Regions from separate parts of the Homo sapiens genome. Here region 1 is linked to region 2. The links are contacts of gene promoters, found by promoter capture Hi-C in blood cells and fetal thymus (Javierre and others, 2016). All regions are on one chromosome and are shown on one strand. The core of a region is centred on a gene start or on the middle of the fragment in contact, and the rest is flanking DNA. Distances in the headings are between cores, read along the strand shown. Region 1 has its middle 22 kb from the start of RNU5E-1. Region 2 holds the start of NPPA (natriuretic peptide A).

What was found. The method cuts DNA at HindIII sites, captures the fragments that hold promoters and counts their contacts. A CHiCAGO score of 5 or more calls a contact.
Region 1: a fragment that was not itself captured here is called in contact with the fragment with the promoter of NPPA in region 2 in 3 of 17 cell types (erythroblasts, M0 macrophages and megakaryocytes); the score reaches 9.4 in erythroblasts.

The regions. Positions count from the first base shown.
Region 1 is chr1:11,883,039-11,890,181 of GRCh38, reverse strand. No RefSeq gene overlaps it. Among named protein-coding and RNA genes, the nearest start is that of RNU5E-1, 22 kb to the left of the region's middle. RefSeq lists enhancers at 749-4,711, 6,307-6,934, 6,935-7,143. The HindIII fragment of the contact is 170 bases long and covers 1,367-1,536 here.
Region 2 is chr1:11,842,889-11,849,283 of GRCh38, reverse strand. It overlaps NPPA (natriuretic peptide A), which reads left to right and starts at 1,501. Exons shown (of 3, transcript NM_006172.4): 1 at 1,501-1,722; 2 at 1,845-2,171; 3 at 3,270-3,575. The coding sequence starts at 1,600. The coding sequence ends at 3,275. CLCN6 (chloride voltage-gated channel 6) reads right to left here. Exons shown (of 23, transcript NM_001286.5): 23 at 6,154-6,395. It also overlaps NPPA-AS1. RefSeq lists an enhancer at 675-2,465. The HindIII fragment of the contact is 12,440 bases long and covers 1-6,395 here.

The DNA of each region.
Region 1 (7,143 bases), core at 202-2,701, 41 kb before region 2:
CAGGGGTCCCTGCGGCCTTCCGCAGTGCATTGTATCTCTGGTTAATCGAGAATGGAGAATGGCGATGACTTTTACTAAGCATACTGCCTACAAAAACATTTCTAACAAAACACATCCTGCACAGCCCTAAATCCCTTAAACCTTGAGTCCATACAGCACATGTTTTTGTGAGCATAGGGTTGGGACAAGAGTTACAGATTAACAGCATCTCAAAGCAGAACAATTTTTCTTAGTACAGATCAAAATGGAGTTTCTTATGTCTTCCTGTCTCTGCATAGACACACTAACAATATGATCTCTCTTTCTTTTCCCCACAATTTGTCACCTGGCTGGCTTCATTCATTATTTCATTACACCAACCACCCGGCCCCTGTAGGTGTTTGGGTTGGCAACCCCAGCTTTCTTTCTTTCTTTCTTTCTTTCTTTATTTATTTATTTTTCTTTGAGACAGAGTCTAGCTCTGTCACCCAGGCTGGAGTGCAATGACATGATCTCGGCTCATTGCAACCTCCGTCCCCTGGGTTCAAGCGATTCTCATGCCTCAGCCTTCCGTGTAGCTGGGATTACAGTCGTGTGCCACCATACCCGGCTAATTTTCGTTTTTTTTTTTTTTAGTAGAGATAGGGTTTCACCATGTTGGCCAGGCTGGTCTTGGACTCCTGACCTCAAGTGATCTGCCCACTTCAGCCTCCCAAAGTGCTGGGATTACAGGTGTGAACCGCTGTGCCCGGCCCTCGGCATAATTTAAGTGGGAAGCCCAGTGTTATGATGACTGTCTCCGGTCATTCCAAGGCTGGGCACCTGCTTCTGGCTGAGTCTTGACCCCTCTCTTCTTCTTGGTGCGCCCTCTGGCCCTGCATGTGTACCCACCCACCTGGCACTTTCAGAAGAGTGGCTGTGACTCACTTAGACAAAAACTGCATTTTCCTGTCCTGATAGTCGAAAACTGCTTGGATGAGCCTAGACAATTTAGGGATTTGAAGGAGTTTCCCAAGCCCCTAATGTGTTCTTCCCTGGCTGAGTGGAGTGAGCCAGCCCCATGGGGCCCAGTGCCCTGGTCTCCCCACCATCACCTGCACCAGCCGGTCTCTGTCTTCCCCCTCCCCACCCCATCGTGATCAATGGGACAGGCCCTCAGGTTGCAGGGCATGAACCTGAGGGAGGAGCCAGACCTCGGGCCCTGAAGGGAGCTCTGGCCACTCACAGTCCCTCCAGGGAGCCCCTGGGTGTGGGGTTTGGGCTCTGACTGCAGCAGGAGGAGGCCCAGGAAGGACCCACCCTGGCTTTTCTCCTTTCCAGTGTGTCTCTTTCCCAGAAAAATATGGGTCCTAGTGGCCAGTGTCCCTGGGAGCTGTCGAATCAAGCTTCCTGGATACCTGCCACTCGGCCAGCTGGTGGCACCTTTAGAGGGCTTTTCCTGCCGCTGAGAACACGAATCTGTTGGGGAAAAGACTGCTAGATGAGCCCTGCCAGGTCCCGACACACTGCCTGGCTGTTGCCTGGGACCACAGTCTTTGCTCACCTCTTGGCTAAGCTTTAGCCTCCTTCCAGGAATGCTTCCTGGATCTCAGCCCTCTGGAGTTGTGTGTCTTCATCTGCCCCTAGTTTGCTGTGTGACTTCAGGCAAGCGGCACAACCTCTCTGCTCTACTCGCTTAGGATGCCTAGAAGAATCTGAGCAGAGCACTCTGGAAGGGACTGTGACAGAGGCAGTGGAGAAAGGGCTGGTGCAAGGAGAATGTTTATGTGGCAGCACCATGAGTAGCATGAGGCCGAGGGCTGGGAGCCCGATTTCCTGTGTTCGACTTCCAGTTCTAGGCTGGGCACGGTGGCTCACACCTGTAATCCCAGTACTTTGGTAGGCCGAGGCGGATGGATCACCTGAGGTCAGGAGTTTGAGACCAACCTGGCCAACGCGGTGAAACTCCATCTCTACTGAAAATATAAAAATTAGCCAGGTGTGTTGGTGCATGCCTGTAATCCCAGCTACTTGGGAGGCTGAGGCAGGAGAATCAATCTCTTGAACCCGGGAGGCGGAGGTTGCAGTGAGCAGAGATCGTGCCACTGTACTGCATCCTGGGTGACAGAGCAAGACCCCATCTCAAAAAACAAACAAACAAAAACAAAAAACCCACCAAATTCCGGTTCCATCGCTTGGCAGCTCCATGACCTTGGGGACAATTATAGCACCTACTGCATAGGATGGCTGAGAGGATTAAACAAAATTATGCAAGAGATGCACTTGGCACCATTGAAATGTTCAGGAAAGGCCATTGTTAGGATTGGTACCTGAACAGCATGGAACCTGCCAAAGGAAGAGAGGAGCTCCCGGGGCGCAGGTGTCAGCTCACCCACGATTCCTACAGGTGGAGCTGCGGCTATGAAGCCTTGATTTCCAGGGGTTGGGGACCTGGATTTGAGTCACTTTCGTTTGTGCCACGCCTGAGCATGGCAGACCCCCAGGGAGGAGTTGGGAGTGGGCTCTCGCAGGACCCCTGCCATGGTGGGTGCTGTGAGCTGCCCTCCCAGAGGTGAGTTCTCTGGGTCCTGCCACACAAAACACATGGCAGGGGCGTGGATCCCTACACCCAAACCCATACAAGGCCTTGGACCTGTGCTCACCAACTCAGATCACGGGGATGCAGGGGGTTCACCTTCTCCAAGGAAGGGCCAGGGACACAAGAGAAAACAGGGAGCTATTTTGAGAAGGTGTCAAGGCTGGGACACTAAAATTAGAGGCTTGGTTCCTAAAAAGACATTGGCGCCAACCGAGGCCTTGAAGAGGGGCTCTTCAGCACGGAATGTGACCCCAGGAAGCACGCTCACAATTCTGGACAATGAGGTCAGCCTGCAGGGCGCATGGGACCGCCCAATGGCCGGTGGGCATGGGCACCTCTCCCCCCGCCAGCCCCACCTGCAGAATGCTGGAACTGGCTCCAACCGCTTCCCGTCTGCACTGAGCCAGCGCAAGGGCGAGCGGACAGAGCCTCATGTTCCCGGTGCTGCTGCCCTTCCAGGCTGCCTTCCTTTTTTGACTGTCCTTTTGGCTTCTTATGCTTTTGGCTCCATTCTGGATGTGCGTCATGGGGTGGGATGCAGAAGCAGCAGCCAGCTTGGAGGCTGGTGTTCCCGGAGGCTGAGGGCGGGATGGGGGGAAATATGAACCAGGAAAGGGCCTGGTATCCCCAGCCCAGATGGGCCTAGGCTGCTGTCCCCCAGGGACAGAGAAGCTCAAGACTTTCTTTTTTTCTTTTTTTTTAGGCAGAGTCTTGCTGTGTCTCCCAGGCTGGAGTGCAGTGGCACGATCTCAGCTCACTGTAACCCCCATCTCCCAGGTTCAAGCGATTCTCTGCCTCAGCCTCCTGAGTAGTTGGTATTATAGGCATGCGCCACCACACCCCACTAATTTTTTGGATTTTTTAGTAGAGATGGGGTTTCGCCATGTTGGCCAGACTGGTCTCGAACTCCTGACCCCAAGTGATCTGCCTGCCTTGGCCTCCCAAAGTACTGGGATTACAGGTGTGAGCCACTGTGCCCAGCCCAAGACTTTCTTTCTTTGTCTCCTCCTCTGGCCTCAGAGGAAGCTGGGGAAGTCCTTACAGAGCCGACTTCCTGGGGTGAGGCGCCAAAGGGCTCTTAGTCCCGCTGCTCGGAGATGGAGGCGACCCCTCTCCCTCCTCTCAGGGCCCCGGCCTGGAGTCCAAGGCTTCATCATTTGCCTTTCCTCTTAGCCCAAGGTGTTTTCCCTGGAGAGGGAGGGTGGCAAATTTGATCCTGTCCCCACACTCCTGTTTAAATTCCCTTAGCGACTGCTCATGGCCCTGGGATGGGGTCTGAATTTATCACCGTCCAGAAGGCCCCACAAATTCCAGCCCTGCCCAGCTCTCACTCCAAGCCCTAGACCCGTGACCATCTCTCCTGTTTTCCAACACACCAAGTTCACACCCTCTCCTCCTCGCCCAGCTGAGTCCCACTTACTCAATGTAATGTGAGACAATGGAAATGTCCCTTCCCTAGAGAGGCCTGCCCAGGCCAGGACATTAGGCTCAGGCTTATTGCCATCTGTTCTTGTAGGACCGTTTTTGCTGTGTGCTGGTGCTCCCCATCAGAACATCAGCTCCATGGAATCTGCCTGCTGTTGTAACTCCAGTGCTTGGCACAAAGCCGGGGCTCAGAGATACACGTTGCCCTCGTTGAGGTGGAAACCAAGAGGGAAGTGCCCTGGTCACTCTTGGACAATGGGGGCCTAGAAATGCAGGGAGGTGGCTGTCACAGACAGGCTACCTGGGCAAAGGAGACTTGGTCTACCAAAGGAGGCCAGAAGGATGACACCATGGGAGGGTGCACTGCTGGAATGGGGCTTGGGGACAATGTCCACCGGTCTCACCCACAGGGCTGTCCGTGGCTCAGCGGTCAGCCCCAGCAGGTCCCCTGTCCTGCCCTGCTCTTTAGCCTGACTCCGTGGCACCTCTCCGAGACCAAAGCCGACAAGCAGATGGGCCTTGAATCAGGCTCGGAGGGTGAGCTGGGGTTTCCGTAGCAAAGGTAGAGGGAAGTGCTCAGGAAAATGATGAACATGTTTCCCCAAAAACTGGCATAGTTGTTCCCCTCAGAACCCCCATACTGTCTCCTGGATATGAGTAGAGATGGCTCAGTGCCTGTGGGGGCTCAGAGCCTGACCCTCCCTACCCCAGGTCCCACTGTCACATGCTTAGGCTTGTTAAACACTCAGACGGGTGCGGTGGCTCATGCCTGTAATCCCAGCACTTTGGGAGGCCGAGGCGGGAGGATCGCTTGAGTCCAGGAGTTTGAGATCAGCCTGGGCAGCATGGCAAGACTCCGTTTCTATTTTTTTAAATTAAAAAATTAAAAATTAAAAATAAAAATAAAACACACCCAGAAAAGCTGTGTTGAGTTGAATGGGGCTGCATCAGCTTTGCTTGGCTGGCTCTCTCCCAGCTCCTGCTAAGACACATTTGTCTGGGGCAGTTCTGGTTTACATCCATCCATTGGGGGGCTTTTTAACACAACCCATGTCATACCAACGCATCCTGGTTTGGAATTTATGTTACATGGTTATGCTATTAGGTCTAAATATGTTCATATGGAATTATCTCTAAGACAATTTAGTAATTAAATAACTTAATAATTTAAGTAGTACAAATATGCAAAAAAATTGCATGTGCTTGTGCTGTAGAGGAAAATTCATGAAGGAGGCATAAGAAATTGATCAGCGATGCCTGGGAGGGGAGTAGGTGGGAGCTGAGGGACTGGGAGTTCGATGGGAGGGAGTTACCTTTAATTGTGCGTCCTCTTCTATATATACAGGATATATAGAATCATATGTATATACATATATGGGTGTGTTTTTCTTGTTTTTTGTTTTTTGTTTTTGTTTTTTTTTTTTTTGAGACAGAGTCTCACTCTGTCACCCAGACTGGAATGCAGTGGCATGATCTCAGCTCACTACAACATCTGCCTCCCGGTTTAAGCGATTCTCATGCCTCAGTCTCCTAATAGCTGGGACCACAAGTGCACACCACCATGTCCGGCTAATTTTTTGTCTTTTTATTAGAGATGGGGTTTCACTATGTTGCTCAGGCTGGTCTCAAACTCCTGGCCTCACGCGATCCTCTGGCCTCAGTTTCCCAAAGTGCTGGGATTACAGGTGTGAGCCGCCATGCCTGGCATGATTTCTACTACTTTTTGAGAAAAGTAAACTTGAGTTACTTTTTCTCAAAAAAAATAAAATAAAATAAAGGGCCCGGCGCAGTGGCTCACGCCTGTAATCCCAGTGCTTTGGGAGGCTGAGGCAGGTGGATCACAAGGTCAGGAGATCGAGACCATCCTGGCTAACACGGTGAAACCCCGTCTCTACTAAAAATACGAAAAATTAGCCGGGCGTGGTGGTGGGCGCCTGTAGTCCCAGCTACTCGGGAGGCTGAGGCAGGAGAGTGGTGTGAACCCAGGAGGCAGAGCTTGCAGTGAGCCAAGATGGCGCCACTGCACTCCAGCCTGGGTGACAGAGCAAGACTCCGTCTCAAACAACAAAAAAGCAAAAACAAACAAAAAAACCTCCACTGCACGCCCCTCACCCCTCTAGCCTGAACCCCCAGGTTTATATTATATGGCTTGGGGCTTCTTACTTTGTTATTTTTCTACCACTGATTTCTGAGGTTTGGTGGGAAACTTGGTGACATCTGGGCTTTGTAATTAATAAAATACAAAGCAAAAAACCCGACAAAACATGTTTGGTCTTTCTCTGTTTTGACTACACATTCCTCGAGGGCAGGGACATTTGGGGGTCGCCTTCGTCCAACAGTGGTGAGTTCATGGTAGGTGTGAACAGGTGTTTGCTAAACTAAGCCCAGGACGGTGAGAAGGGCGAGCGGGTCCCTCACCAGCAAGAGCCCTGGAGGATCTCTTAGGGGTGCCTGTCCCTGGCTGCCTGCCCACCTTTTCCAAGAGGCCTTTCTAACTCTCCTACCAGAGCCGGCAGACTGGGTCCATCCTGGAGCCCGCTTGGTGGGCTGTGGTGAGTGGAGGTTTTCCACACCACGGGAAGTAGCCCAGGCTTGATGAACGATGACTTCCCGGGCGAGGGATGGAGAACATTGTACCCACTCACGTGCGGGCACAGGTGATCCCGGCTGGAGCAAAGACTCTCATAGTTTGCTTCCTGCTTGGCCGTGACAATGACCCAGGCTCTCAGCCCCCATGCACTTGCACACTCCCCTCAGGGCCACATGGGGTGGGCTGGAGAATCCCAGGAATGTGTTGGAGCTGCTGACAGCACTTCATGCTCTGCGTGTGATCGGCCCATGTGACTTCCTCAGGGAACTGTGTGCCTGGTGGGCTCCAGCACCCCTATCCTGAATCTCCCAGGTCTTCTGATCCCCAGCGCTGGTGCTTAAGAGCGGGATGGGGTTGGGGGGATGCAGAGATGAAATGTAATGGGCAAATCTGCTTGCCCATGGCCACTCCACTTTGTTCTTCATCCAGGGAGGGGTGGCCTAGGCATGGTGGCCAGGGCTTGGCTGTGCACAGGGAACAGGAAGCCGTGAGTGGGAGTGGCCAGGGGAGGCGGGTGGCGCTCACTGCCTACAGCAGGTGTGGCCATGGTGCTGACAGGTCCAGCTTATCA
Region 2 (6,395 bases), core at 252-2,751:
TGTTGCCCAGGCTAGAGTGCAGTGGTGCGATCTTGGTTCACTACAACCTCCGCCTCCCAAGGTCAAGCAATTCTTTTACCTCAGCCTCCCTAGTAGCGGGGATTACAGGCACATGCCACCACACCCAGCTAATTTTTATATTTTTAGTAGAGACAGAGTTTTGCCATGTTGGTAGGGCTGGTCTCAAACTCCTGGCCTCAGGTGATCCACCCACCTTAGCCTCCCAAAGTGCTGGGATTATACGTGTGAGCCACTGCACCCGGCCGGTTTTTAACATTCTTTCTCATTTTACACACAAGGAAAGTAAGGCTGCGAAGAGGTATGCAACTGGTTTGTTTTGGGCTACAGTACTGGTCTCTCAGCCCTTCAAATTTAGAGTTTTCCCCCAGTATACGTTGCATTGAATGGTAATGGCTAACACTGAGTTCAGTGCTTAGCAAACAGGCCATTCATTAAACATAGACAGACTTGCTGCCTGTTATTTCCCTTTTGGGGGCCAGGGAAATTGTGACCTTGGTGGCTCGGTCACTTGCCACTTGCCACGTCCTCAGGGAAGGATGTAGAAGGCATTGAGGGAAACTGACTATACCTCCTTCACCCCCACCTCCCTTCCTCCATCGGTCAAGTTGCCACGGGCACAAGCCCAGGAAGGGCAGGGGGATGTTAACAAACTTCAGACACGAAGAGTCTGAGCATCTATAAACAGCAACGGAAGAAATGAAATTGGCTGCGTCCTCTAAGCCTGTCCCCGCAGCATGCTGGAGGAGGGTCGCGGGGGACATGGAAGAGGAGGAGCTTTGGAGAGAGGATGCTTGTGCTCCCCCGCCTTTTCTTGCTATTTCTATTTGGGGGTTGGATTCCTGGGAGCTTCATCACATTTGGTTCTCAGCTGACTTTATATACTAAAAAATAACTTCCTTTCGCCTGACCATGGAGAGGGACTGCCAGGGGTGAAGGCAGCCCTGTCTGAGGCCAGAGGTCTGCCCACGTGGCGGATGAGGCAGGTGTGAGGCCAGCTTGAGCATCTGGATCCATTTGTCTCGGGCTGCTGGCTGCCTGCCATTTCCTCCTCTCCACCCTTATTTGGAGGCCCTGACAGCTGAGCCACAAACAAACCAGGGGAGCTGGGCACCAGCCAAGCGTCACCCTCTGTTTCCCCGCACGGGTACCAGCGTCGAGGAGAAAGAATCCTGAGGCACGGCGGTGAGATAACCAAGGACTCTTTTTTACTCTTCTCACACCTTTGAAGTGGGAGCCTCTTGAGTCAAATCAGTAAGAATGCGGCTCTTGCAGCTGAGGGTCTGGGGGGCTGTTGGGGCTGCCCAAGGCAGAGAGGGGCTGTGACAAGCCCTGCGGGATGATAACTTTAAAAGGGCATCTCCTGCTGGCTTCTCACTTGGCAGCTTTATCACTGCAAGTGACAGAATGGGGAGGGTTCTGTCTCTCCTGCGTGCTTGGAGAGCTGGGGGGCTATAAAAAGAGGCGGCACTGGGCAGCTGGGAGACAGGGACAGACGTAGGCCAAGAGAGGGGAACCAGAGAGGAACCAGAGGGGAGAGACAGAGCAGCAAGCAGTGGATTGCTCCTTGACGACGCCAGCATGAGCTCCTTCTCCACCACCACCGTGAGCTTCCTCCTTTTACTGGCATTCCAGCTCCTAGGTCAGACCAGAGCTAATCCCATGTACAATGCCGTGTCCAACGCAGACCTGATGGATTTCAAGGTAGGGCCAGGAAAGCGGGTGCAGTCTGGGGCCAGGGGGCTTTCTGATGCTGTGCTCACTCCTCTTGATTTCCTCCAAGTCAGTGAGGTTTATCCCTTTCCCTGTATTTTCCTTTTCTAAAGAATTTGCTGGACCATTTGGAAGAAAAGATGCCTTTAGAAGATGAGGTCGTGCCCCCACAAGTGCTCAGTGAGCCGAATGAAGAAGCGGGGGCTGCTCTCAGCCCCCTCCCTGAGGTGCCTCCCTGGACCGGGGAAGTCAGCCCAGCCCAGAGAGATGGAGGTGCCCTCGGGCGGGGCCCCTGGGACTCCTCTGATCGATCTGCCCTCCTAAAAAGCAAGCTGAGGGCGCTGCTCACTGCCCCTCGGAGCCTGCGGAGATCCAGCTGCTTCGGGGGCAGGATGGACAGGATTGGAGCCCAGAGCGGACTGGGCTGTAACAGCTTCCGGGTAAGAGGAACTGGGGATGGAAATGGGATGGGATGGACACTACTGGGAGACACCTTCAGCAGGAAAGGGACCAATGCAGAAGCTCATTCCCTCTCAAGTTTCTGCCCCAACACCCAGAGTGCCCCATGGGTGTCAGGACATGCCATCTATTGTCCTTAGCTAGTCTGCTGAGAAAATGCTTAAAAAAAAAAGGGGGGGGGGCTGGGCACAGTGGCTCACGCCTGTAATCCCAGCACTTTGGGAGGCCGAGGCAGGCGGATCATGAGGTCAAGAGATCAAGACTATCCTGGCCAACATGGTGAAACCCCAGCTCTACTAAAAATACAAAAATTAGCTGGGTGTGGTGGCGGGCACCTGTACTCTCAGCTACTTGGGAGGCTGAGGCAGGAGAATCACTTGAACCCAGGAGGCAGAGGTTGCAGTGAGCAGAGATCACGCCACTGCAGTCCAGCCTAGGTGATAGAGCGAGACTGTCTCAAAAAAAAAAAAAAAAGGCCAGGCACGGTGGCTCACGCCTGTAATCCCAGCGCTTTGGGAGGCCAAGGCGGGTGGATCACGAGGTCAGGAGATGGAGACCATCCTGGCTAACACGGTGAAACCCCGTCTCTACTAAAAATACAAAAAATTAGCCAGGCGTGGTGGCAGGCGCCTGTAAGTCCTAGCTACTCCGGAGGCTGAGGCAGGAGAATGGCGTGAACCCGGGAGGCGGAGCTTGCAGTGAGCAGAGATGGCACCACTGCACTCCAGCCTGGGCGACAGAGCAAGACTCCGTCTCAAAAAAAAAAAAAAAAAAAGCAACTGCCACTAGCACTGGGAAATTAAAATATTCATAGAGCCAAGTTATCTTTGCATGGCTGATTAGCAGTTCATATTCCTCCCCAGAATTGCAAGATCCTGAAGGGCTTAAGTGAAATTTACTCTGATGAGTAACTTGCTTATCAATTCATGAAGCTCAGAGGGTCATCAGGCTGGGGTGGGGGCCGGTGGGAAGCAGGTGGTCAGTAATCAAGTTCAGAGGATGGGCACACTCATACATGAAGCTGACTTTTCCAGGACAGCCAGGTCACCAAGCCAGATATGTCTGTGTTCTCTTTGCAGTACTGAAGATAACAGCCAGGGAGGACAAGCAGGGCTGGGCCTAGGGACAGACTGCAAGAGGCTCCTGTCCCCTGGGGTCTCTGCTGCATTTGTGTCATCTTGTTGCCATGGAGTTGTGATCATCCCATCTAAGCTGCAGCTTCCTGTCAACACTTCTCACATCTTATGCTAACTGTAGATAAAGTGGTTTGATGGTGACTTCCTCGCCTCTCCCACCCCATGCATTAAATTTTAAGGTAGAACCTCACCTGTTACTGAAAGTGGTTTGAAAGTGAATAAACTTCAGCACCATGGACAGAAGACAAATGCCTGCGTTGGTGTGCTTTCTTTCTTCTTGGGAAGAGAATTCAGGCCGATATTCCTTGTCGTTTTACTCTTTGTCAGAGGAAAGAATGCTGAGTTTTTCTTCTTCCTTTCATTTCACCCTCCTTTTTTGGTAGGTGGTTGGGGAGGCCTCAAATTCCACTCCTAGTGGGGTTTTTGTTGTTTTTAGGGGGGAACATTCAGAAAATGAGAGTATTAATTAGATTTTCTCTGGTACATTTCGAGAGAGTTAGGTTCTACAGCTAAGGTAATGGTACTTTTAGTTTTGAAAAGAGTAGGCAGAGTGTTGAATTTAAAAGCTGAGCAGGCCGGGTGTGGTGGCTCACTCCTGTAATCCCAGCATTTTGGGAGGCCAAGGTGGGCAAATCACTTGAGCCCAGGAGTTCAAGACCAGCCTGAGCAATAGAGTGAGACCCCATCTCTACAAAAAATTTAAAAATTAGCCAGGCATGATGATGTGCACCTGTAGTTCCAGCTATTCAGGAGGCCGAAGTGGGAGGATGGCTTGAGCCTGGGAGGTGGAGGCTGCAGTGAGCTGGTATTGTGCCACTGCATTCCAGCCTGGGTGACAGAATGAGACTTGTCTCAAAAAAATAAAAACTGAGCAAAGTGAAGAAAGGTTTGCCATGCAGACAAACTACAAGTTCATGTGCCTTTTGTGTACTAACAAGTATTTGGAAAACAGACATAGTCTTTGCCTAATCCGGGTCTGAAGGGCCTGGGCTTGTATTTTACTAAGAGCTGCTGGAGAAGATGCCGGCTTTTTGTATCTGCTCCTGAAGAGGGTATTTGCTCTGAGCACAAAACACCAGGCAATAAGTTCACCTTAAACAGAGTAAACTGTTTTCCCACCTGTTACCCCCATGGATCCCAACCTCATCAGATTCTATGACACTCCAACACCCCACACCCACACATGCCACTGTGCCTTTATTTCTGCTGTTCCTTCCACCTGGGGTGTCCTTCCTCTGGTCCTCCCGAGGACATTGTACTGATTTCTTAAGGCTCATATGAACACTACTTCTTTCCTGGTACCTCATGCCTAGTAACAATGAGTCCCTTCGTAGGCAGTGTTGCACATGTAACTGTTATAATAGCACACAACACGAGTTGCCTATGTGCAATTGCTTGTGTCTACGTCCCTAGACTGCAAGCTCTTTGAGGGCAAATGCCCCTTCAGCACTCTCAGAGTTGATGCCCCATAAATGTTGGTCAAATTGCCTTGGTCTTGTCCAGAAATTGGGAAAAGAGGAAATGAAGTAGTAACTTGCTCCTTGCGGAGGAAAGGGGGAGGCTCCCAGTGAACTAATGGCAGGGGGTTGAGGTGGGGGGAGAGCCTCACCTAACCACCTCCAGTCAAAATCTTCTCTACCTGGACTTTAAATACCAGGAAAACCAGGGGGTAGAGAATGACAAGGATGAAAGTAAGAGCGACAGGAGACAGCACTGGCCCAAACCTGGCTCCTGAGGTCTGGGATGGTGTTGCGGGTTGCTAGGAGGGGAAGTAGCCCATTCTCAAGGTGTCACCGTAACACAGGTAACACAGGGAGTTCTCATTGAATGAAACTGATTGAAAAATGACAAAAACACAAGGCAGAAAATGCCCCTGGGACTTACAGAACACTTGGGGATGGATGCAGGAGCTGAACTGGCTGCGACCACTGATGGAACAGCCACTTCTGTCACTGATGGAATGATGATTTGAAGCAGATCAGAGACAGAGGCCGCTCTTCTTGCAAAACCAAAAGCAAGCGAACAAAAAGCAATGGCCGATGGCAACAACAGAAGCTGGCCACGGGTCTTCACCTCTCCAGACCCAGCAGCAGTTTCACTTCTTCTGGTTGGACATCGGGGCAATCTGTGTGTGGGGCAACTTCCTAAACACCAGGAAGAAACAGAATGGATTCCCCATCCGCTGCTCCTCCAGGACGCGGCTGCTAGCAGGAGGAGATGAATTCTAGAGGAGAGGATCAGGAAGAGTGTTCATCTGAAGGGAGAAACAGACAACGGTGACCTCTGCTAAGATCCACAGGATGAAATCTGTTCTTATTAAGGTCACTGTCTAATACAGAGAAGTGGACCCGCAAGAATGAAGAGCCCCACTGCCCAGCTGCATAGGGAGAGCTCTGAGACTCTAAAACTACGTCCTAGTGTAATTTCCACACATCAGAAAGAGGGGGAGTAAAATAAAAAGCAAGTATCCCTTGAAAGAAAGAGCAGCAGGGCCGGGCGTGGTGGCTCACGCCTGTAATCCCAGCACTTTGGGAGGCCGAGGCGGGTAGGATCACCAGGTCAGGAGATTGAGACCATCCTGGCTAACATGGTGAAACCCCATCTCTACCAAAAATACAAAAAATTAGCCAGGCATGGTGGTGGGCGCCTGTAGTCCCAGCCACTCGGGAGGCTGAGGCAGGAGAATGGCGTGAACCTGGGAGGCGGAGCTTGCAGTGAGCTGAGATGGCACCACTGCACTCCAGCCTGGGTGACAGCGAGACTCTGTCTCAAAAAAAGAAAGAAAGAAAGAAAGCAGCATGGAGACAAAAGGCTAAAGGAGACAGAGGAGACAGAAGACATTTTATTCTCACATGTTAGGGTTACAATGAGAACTCCCAAGTTCCAAAGGTTCAAATAAAAATAGCATTTTACAAATTAAAAAAAATACAATTTATATACACAGTGGAATTAGCTAACATCATACAAACAAACAGTGCAAACAGAAAAAAGGAAGCTGCGACTGCGGCAATGGCCAAGGTCCGCAGAGCTGTGGTGCAATACTGCACATCAATACTGCAGGGCTGGCGA